Linked DNA regions of Homo sapiens: region 1 is linked to region 2. Evidence: promoter capture Hi-C in 16 types of primary human blood cells and fetal thymus (Javierre and others, 2016). All regions are on one chromosome and are shown on one strand. Each heading gives the region's core, a stretch centred on a gene start or on the middle of the fragment in contact. The rest is flanking DNA. Distances are from core to core; before and after follow the strand shown.

Evidence for each region. The method cuts DNA at HindIII sites, captures the fragments that hold promoters and counts their contacts. A CHiCAGO score of 5 or more calls a contact.
Region 1: a fragment that was not itself captured here is called in contact with the fragment with the promoter of KCNA10 in region 2 in 4 of 17 cell types (endothelial precursors, total CD8 T cells, activated CD4 T cells and 1 more); the score reaches 5.7 in endothelial precursors.

Annotation. Positions count from the first base shown.
Region 1 is chr1:110,756,558-110,760,422 of GRCh38, reverse strand. All of the region lies in intron 1 of LOC124904296 (a long non-coding RNA gene), which reads left to right. Among named protein-coding and RNA genes, the nearest start is that of KCNA3, 84 kb to the right of the region's middle. The HindIII fragment of the contact is 280 bases long and covers 1,290-1,569 here.
Region 2 is chr1:110,517,210-110,521,200 of GRCh38, reverse strand. KCNA10 (potassium voltage-gated channel subfamily A member 10) reads left to right here and starts at 2,026. Exons shown (of 1, transcript NM_005549.2): 1 at 2,026-3,984. The coding sequence starts at 2,414. The coding sequence ends at 3,949. The HindIII fragment of the contact is 5,009 bases long and covers 1-2,610 here.

The DNA.
Region 1 (3,865 bases), core at 180-2,679, 240 kb before region 2:
AGTGCTAACCTCTTGCCAGGCACCATGCTAGACACTTTACATTATCTCCTTTATTTTTTGCTGTGATCTTTTTGAGACAGATATGTTATAGAGATGCCTGTGGAAACAGAAGCATTTATTTTCTTCTATATATTATTATTTATTGTATCAGGGATGTTGCCAGTCAATTCTAGTATAGACAGAGAGAATTGCCTTGAAACATTTTTCTGTTCAGGGAAGTTACTTGAGTAGCCTCTCAAGACAAGTAGGTGCTCTGCACCCCGGGAAGGTTATAACAGCACCTGTTTTGTGCTAGACCATGCTTTTCCTTTTTAATTTCTCTGAATCTGTGGGGTTTATAGGTAGAAAGGGACTGTTCACATTTCAACAGGGCGAAGAAGCTCCAGGAAGCTAAGAAATGGAGATCCAATGGTTCCTTTTGAAAGTCATTATTACTAGAATCTCTTTGAATGAATGTTCTCCCAACTTAAATGTCAGCTCTGCAAGAGCAGGGTTCTCTGTATCTAAAAGACTCGGATAGTGGCTCGCACATAGTAAGTGCTCAATAAATATTTGTTGAGTGACCCTTATCCCCCAATTCTTTAGCGCATACACCTGCCCCCAAGTTTTCCAGATTAAATTTTAACTTTTCCTTTCTTATTAATTCTCCACTAATCTTCCTGAAATAACCAAAAGTTTCAGCAGCTTTTAAAGCCTCTTTATATATTCACATCCAATTGAAAATTATAAAAATATGTACTCAAATAAAAGATAATGTCTGTCCTCCTGTTTGTTATAACCAGAGAATGTGCAATCAGATTATCTAATAATACTTATGTCAAGTTGTTTAAATAAATAAGCTAAAAAAAGAGGTGGTAGTTAATAAGAGCACATTTTAAACCGTTTAATGTGGAATTATATACATTATTAGGCAGGTACTACTTCTGATTTTGTAATAATGTTTCTTCACTGGAATCTATGATAAATTCATTGTTTGAGATGACATCTTTGTGAGGCTATCTAAACTTAAGCCTTTGGATTGATTTAGCTAAATTTCATTCAAAGTGTTTTAAAATAAATTTACCATCATTTTGATGTTTTTAGAAATCTTTATAAAATCAACAGATGAAAGAGTTAGAAGAATTTGATTTTAGCCTGCCAATAATCTATTAGTCTATTATTTGAGAGGAAATCTATGTCATTTCAAGTCAATTCAATAAACACACATCGAAAACCAACTCTATGCCAGGCATTAGGATATGAACAAAATACATAAAGATGTGAAACATGGCACCTGCCCTTAAGAAGCTTATAGTCTAGTGGGGAGAAACAAATGACCAAGGAAATGGATATAATGCAGATAAGAAGTGGAATAAGATCTGAGGGGCTGATTTTTTATAGGATAAAGGTAATGTCTGTACACTGTGAAAGGAAGGAAGATAGAGTATGAATTTACAGATATTGGTAGTTTCTGTTTTGAATTATAGAGAGGTTCATTCCATATTAATCTTCTTTATCCACTTAATACCTTTATTACTCTTATATGTACAGTCAGATTTAGGGCAATAATATTTAGGTTTAGAATAAGCTTAAAGATGAAATGCTGACCTTCAGTCTTGTCTAGAATATTTTTCTGAAGAATTGAGATAAACAATGAAGGATGGACAATTAAATGACCAGTAATGCTGGCTCCTTGGTTGAGGCGTATATGAAATTTACTCTCAAATTATTCTACAAGCTATCATAAATATTTTTAAATTGCTATAATAAAAGATCCTAGGTATGTTTCCATCTTTTGGTCACCTTTGAAAAGAGGCCAAGGAAGAACAATCCTCAGATCAGTTATTCCAAAAATCACTGCTATTCTGGAAGGCAACTCCTCTACACTATTGTCAGGCAAAAGATGTCTGAAAACAATATAAAATTCAGGAAGGTGTCTGCATTTTCCCTGACATTATTCCTTTTCAAATATGTTCCAGTGGCACTACACTAAGCATTTTACCTATGTTATCCCAATTAAGCTCCCCACAATCCTATAAAGAAGTCATAAAACCACTGAATGTAAAGCTCATGTGAGCAGAGACTGCAGTCTCTTTCATTACCAGCTGTCTCCCCAGAGCCTAGAACAGAGCCTGGAATTGCACAGATGCTTGTAAATATTTTTGGAATGAATGAAAGGTTGGCTGACTACATGTTAAAGAACTTTCTCAAGGTCACATAGCTAGTAAAGAGTAGAGTCAGGACTCCAACTCAGATCTGTCCGATTGCAAAGCTTCTGCTTCTAACCCCTACGCTCTATTATCTTCCCTGGCTTGAAACTACATTTTCCATCAATTCCAGACAGCTGAAAAATCAGGATGTCCAATATTTCCAGAGGCACCAACTGGAAAACTGCCCTAGTTAGTCTTGACAAGAAACTAGAGTGGGGATTAAGAGAGCAGTCCTTGTTTTAAGGAGACTCAGAGGTGGGACAGTGATGGCTAATTCACCTCTAGGTACCATCTAAGTTGGCATCTTTGAAGATATGTTGTGAGGTTTAAATAATATTCTATATGTAATAGACTTAGCCTGGTACTTAAGACTTAGTAACAATCAATAGTTGCAAGAACAAAGACAGTAACTGTAAATTTTATAGAACATATGATGCTGTTATCCTAAAATGTTGAAAGTAAATGACAGTAGAGCTTTAGAGTGACTTTAGATGGTAAGACTGATGTCCAGCACAGTTGCCTGACTCATGTAGTAATCATTTGAATGGCTTAATGAGCCTCCTATTTGCCTTCCTATTTTAATATAACAGGAGTACTGAGAAATATATTTTTAAATTGTATTCTGAACACTTTACAAATCCCGACTCCTTTAACCCTCATAACAACCTTTGAGGTAGATATCATGATTACCATCCCCACTTTACACATTATTTTACTTAATAGATTTGAATTCAGCCTGTCAGTAATCTGTTAATCTATGATTTGAGAGGAAATGGAGGCACAAAGAGGCTAAGCAATTTGACAAGATCATGTAGCTGGTGAGTGCCAAGGTGGGATTAAACCCAGACAACATGGCTTCAGGTCTATGCTCTTAACCAGTATACTCTAGAAAAGAGCAGTGTAGTCAGTTCTAACTCCTATGGCCTGCTGGCACCCTGAAGCTGGCTGCCTGTATGAACCTACAGTACAGACTATGTAACAAACAGACAACAAAATACAAATTTATAATACTTCAGAAATTGGTAGTTGTCAATGTCTTTATCATAAGAAGAAGGAAGACATAAAATCAGTGATCTAAGTTTACTTCCATCTTAAAAGCTGGAAAAGGAAGAGCAAATTAAATCTAAAGTAAGTAGAAGAAAATAAGTAACAAAAATAAGGACAGAAATCAATTAAATAAAAAATGGACAAACAGATAAAATCAGTGCAAACATTTATTATTAGAAAAGATGAATAAAATTGGTAATCCCCACCTAGACTGCTGTGAAGATTATAAAATGCGATTTAAAATTTTTGATGCTCTTTCCATCAAGAAATGGACTCTATATTTCTTCCTCTTAATTTGGGCTGGCCTCGGTGACTTGCTTGTAACCAGTAAAATTTGGTGAACATGGCAATGTTTTACTTTCAATCTATGTTAGGAAAAGCCAAACAACTTCCAACTGGTTCTCTTGGGATGCTTGCTCTGGAAGAAGACAGCTGCTAAGCTGGAGAGGCCACATGTAAACACTCCATCAACAGCCCCAGCTGAGCTCCCAGCCAACAGCAGGCACCAGCTGCCAGCCATGTAAGGAAGCCATCTTGGGCATCCTGCCTAGTTGAGTCTCACATGACTGGAGCCCCAACTGACAACTGAATTCAATGACATTAAAGGCTCCAAGTGAGAACTGTTCAGC
Region 2 (3,991 bases), core at 777-3,276:
GACGGTTCTCTTTTCTCTTTGTTTTAATGATTAACATTTGCTACTAATGGGGCAGGTGGAGCCGCCTGCACAGCACACTTCTGTAGACCACGGAATATGCTGTTTGACCTTGGCACTGTCTGCCACCTCCTCACCATCAGACCCTCATCAAACACCCTCCTACCTGTCACTTGACCTGGGGGTGGAAGTGACAAAGAGGAACCTAGGAGGCAGGGAGAAGGGAAATGGCCTGGCTCCCAAAAAAGGAAGTTAATTATTTGGCCAAAGAAGCTCTCCCTAATCCCCAAATGCTTTCTGCTGCTGGCCTCCAGAGAAGTTCCTGATAAGGGTCACTCTAGCCTTGGCTAGAACCATGGAAGTGGTTCCCAAACCTTGCCCAAAGCTCACTGATGGTACTCATTCCTCTCAGAAAGCGGGACTGATTCACACCTGGAAGATAATCATCAGGGAGCACCATCTGCGGTCCAAGACCCCAAAGGAGAAAATGGTGCTCCGAAGACATGAGATCAACACAGAGCTGGAGTCCCCCACCCACAGCCATCCAGCTGCCAAGCAGTTCAGGACAAGGCCCCCAAATCATCATGCGAATTACTGTGAAGCTACATTTCTCCAGGGCTTTACCATGTACAGAGCCAGGATTTGAACTCGGGTGGACTGATTCTATTCTCAGATTCCATCCTGCCTCCCAGCCATCCTACTGCTCACCGAGCCTTGCAGAGCAGGCTGGCACCTGGCATGCTTGGCAGTGGGTACATCCTTCCTCATTCCACAACTGAGGAAGCAGCAGCTCCGTGAAATTAGGCCGTTTGCAATGGCCACATACTCCTGAGAGGTAGAATGGGTACTCTACCAGTGCTGACCAACCAGACTTGAGCTCATCATTCAACACATGGCACCTGAACTGAGAAAAGGGGTCATGGGATGGAAAGAGCTCTGGACCCCTGACAATTCTGTGGCCCTAGCCTACAGCTCCCCACAAGGCTCAGCTCCTATATAGGGACTCCATGGTCTAGTGGGAAAGGCCCTGGGCCAGAAGGCCATGGCCAGGTTTAGGTCAGGACTCTGTAGCACTAGTTATGTGACCTTAGGAAGTCACTTTGTCCCTGTGACTTGGTTTCCGCATCTGCAAAACAGAGATAACATCTAACCTCACGTGATTATTGTCATCTAGTGAGATAAGTGAATGTGGAATCACTTTGAAAAGACTACAACACTACACTGCAGGATAGCCTTGTCGCCTGTAAAGGAAACCTCTCCAAGGCTGTGACCACTACAGATTTTGCCTGAGGTTAAGTCCCTTACTTCTCTCCCACTCCCACCCCCAGCCTGCCTGGGTTCAGTGTTCTTAAATTGAAACTGAAGCTAGAATGAACCTGAGGAAAGAAATATTAGTCTATGTGTATAGATGTCCAAGCCCACTGGGCATGATTTCCTAACCCCACCTCCAGCGTGCGCGCGCACACACACACACACACACACACATATACACACACACACACAGACACACACAATTATTTACTTCCTTCCCACCTAAAATGATTTCTCAAAATGAAATTACTTCCTATGGACACCTTGGACTCAGGCCAAAAAAAATTCCAATTGCTGGTAGTTTCTAAAGTGCTTGTTATGTGGGAAAGTTGACAAAAAACAATAGCTATAATATAGTGATCTTTCTTTCCACCAAGCATTCCATACGTGTTATCTCATTTGAGGTACCTTCAAAACAACTCTAGGAGTTATTTCCAGGTGAGGGGTCATTTAGAGGACATTGTCGATTGGCCAACCCAGCGTCTTGTTTTTCCTTCCCTAAAGAATCCCCATTGGGTTCATAGATCTGGTTCCACCCTTCACCACTTGGTCCAGAAGCAGGGGTGGAAGTGATGCAAAATGGTTGAATTCTAGATATATTTTGAAGACATGACCAAAAGGATGTGTGAGGGACTGGCTGTTGGTGTGAAAGAGAGGCATTACGAATGAGATTGGGCATGGAGACGTGTTTGGTGAGACAGAAGGCTTCATGCAAATACAAGATCATGCTTTTTATTATTAAGGAATGTTAACTTCCTCTTTTAGTATGGCCCCTCTGCCATCACATATGGAGACCATCCTTTGCTGGGGAGAATCTCCCCTTCTTTGCCAGGATCCTTTTTTTGCAATTTCTCCTAGTTATTAGTTTATGCAAACTCAGGGGTACAAAATGATTTTAAGGGAAGCATGCTGCCAAAATAACCATGACGTTCCTTCCCAAGCTACAAATAAGTCATTGATTAGCCCATTGGTGTACCTTACCTCAATAAACAAGGGCCAGTTGTATTCTGCCCTGGATCTTGTATAATGAACTTCTTCTTCTCCATAGCTCACAGCAGGCAGTGAAGGCTGAGGATCTTCATGCTTCTTCCCTGGCTCCCCTAGAATGGATGTGTGTGGCTGGAAAGAAATGGAGGTTGCGCTGGTCAATTTTGATAATTCAGATGAAATCCAAGAAGAGCCAGGCTATGCCACAGACTTCGACTCAACCAGCCCAAAAGGCCGGCCTGGGGGCAGCTCCTTCTCCAACGGGAAGATCCTCATCAGCGAAAGCACCAACCATGAGACGGCCTTCTCCAAGCTTCCGGGAGACTATGCTGACCCCCCAGGGCCTGAGCCAGTGGTCCTAAATGAAGGAAACCAGCGGGTGATCATCAACATTGCTGGGCTGAGATTTGAGACCCAGCTCAGAACCCTTAGTCAGTTCCCAGAGACTCTCCTGGGAGACCGGGAAAAAAGGATGCAGTTCTTTGACTCCATGAGAAATGAGTATTTCTTTGATCGGAACCGGCCCAGTTTTGATGGAATCCTATATTATTACCAATCTGGTGGGAAAATTCGGCGCCCAGCCAATGTTCCCATTGATATCTTTGCTGATGAAATCTCCTTCTATGAGCTGGGTAGTGAGGCCATGGACCAGTTCCGGGAGGATGAAGGCTTCATCAAAGACCCTGAAACACTGCTACCCACCAATGACATCCACCGTCAGTTCTGGCTCCTCTTTGAGTACCCTGAAAGTTCCAGCGCTGCCCGTGCTGTGGCCGTGGTCTCGGTGTTGGTTGTGGTCATCTCCATCACCATCTTCTGCCTGGAGACACTGCCAGAGTTCCGGGAGGATAGGGAGCTAAAGGTGGTCAGAGACCCCAATCTCAACATGAGCAAGACAGTCCTCTCCCAGACCATGTTCACCGACCCTTTCTTCATGGTGGAGTCTACCTGCATCGTGTGGTTCACCTTCGAGCTGGTGCTCCGGTTCGTGGTCTGCCCCAGCAAGACTGACTTCTTCAGGAACATCATGAACATCATTGACATCATCTCCATTATCCCCTACTTTGCAACTCTCATCACAGAGCTAGTCCAGGAGACAGAGCCGAGTGCCCAACAGAACATGTCCCTGGCCATCCTGAGGATCATCCGCCTGGTGAGGGTCTTCCGCATCTTCAAGCTCTCGCGCCACTCCAAGGGGCTGCAGATCCTCGGGCAAACACTGAAGGCGTCCATGCGGGAGTTGGGGTTGCTCATCTTCTTTCTCTTCATTGGAGTCATCCTCTTCTCCAGTGCAGTCTACTTTGCTGAGGTGGATGAGCCAGAGTCCCATTTCTCTAGCATTCCTGATGGCTTCTGGTGGGCAGTGGTCACCATGACAACTGTAGGCTATGGGGACATGTGCCCGACCACCCCAGGGGGGAAGATTGTGGGCACTCTGTGTGCCATTGCAGGGGTCCTCACCATTGCCCTCCCTGTGCCTGTCATTGTCTCCAACTTCAATTACTTCTACCACCGGGAGACTGAGAATGAAGAAAAGCAGAACATCCCAGGAGAAATTGAAAGAATCCTCAACAGTGTAGGCTCAAGAATGGGCAGCACAGACTCTCTTAATAAGACCAATGGTGGCTGTTCCACAGAGAAGTCTAGGAAATGATCAGTCCAGGGCTTCTTGGGTCCATCCTGTCTCTCTTCTCTC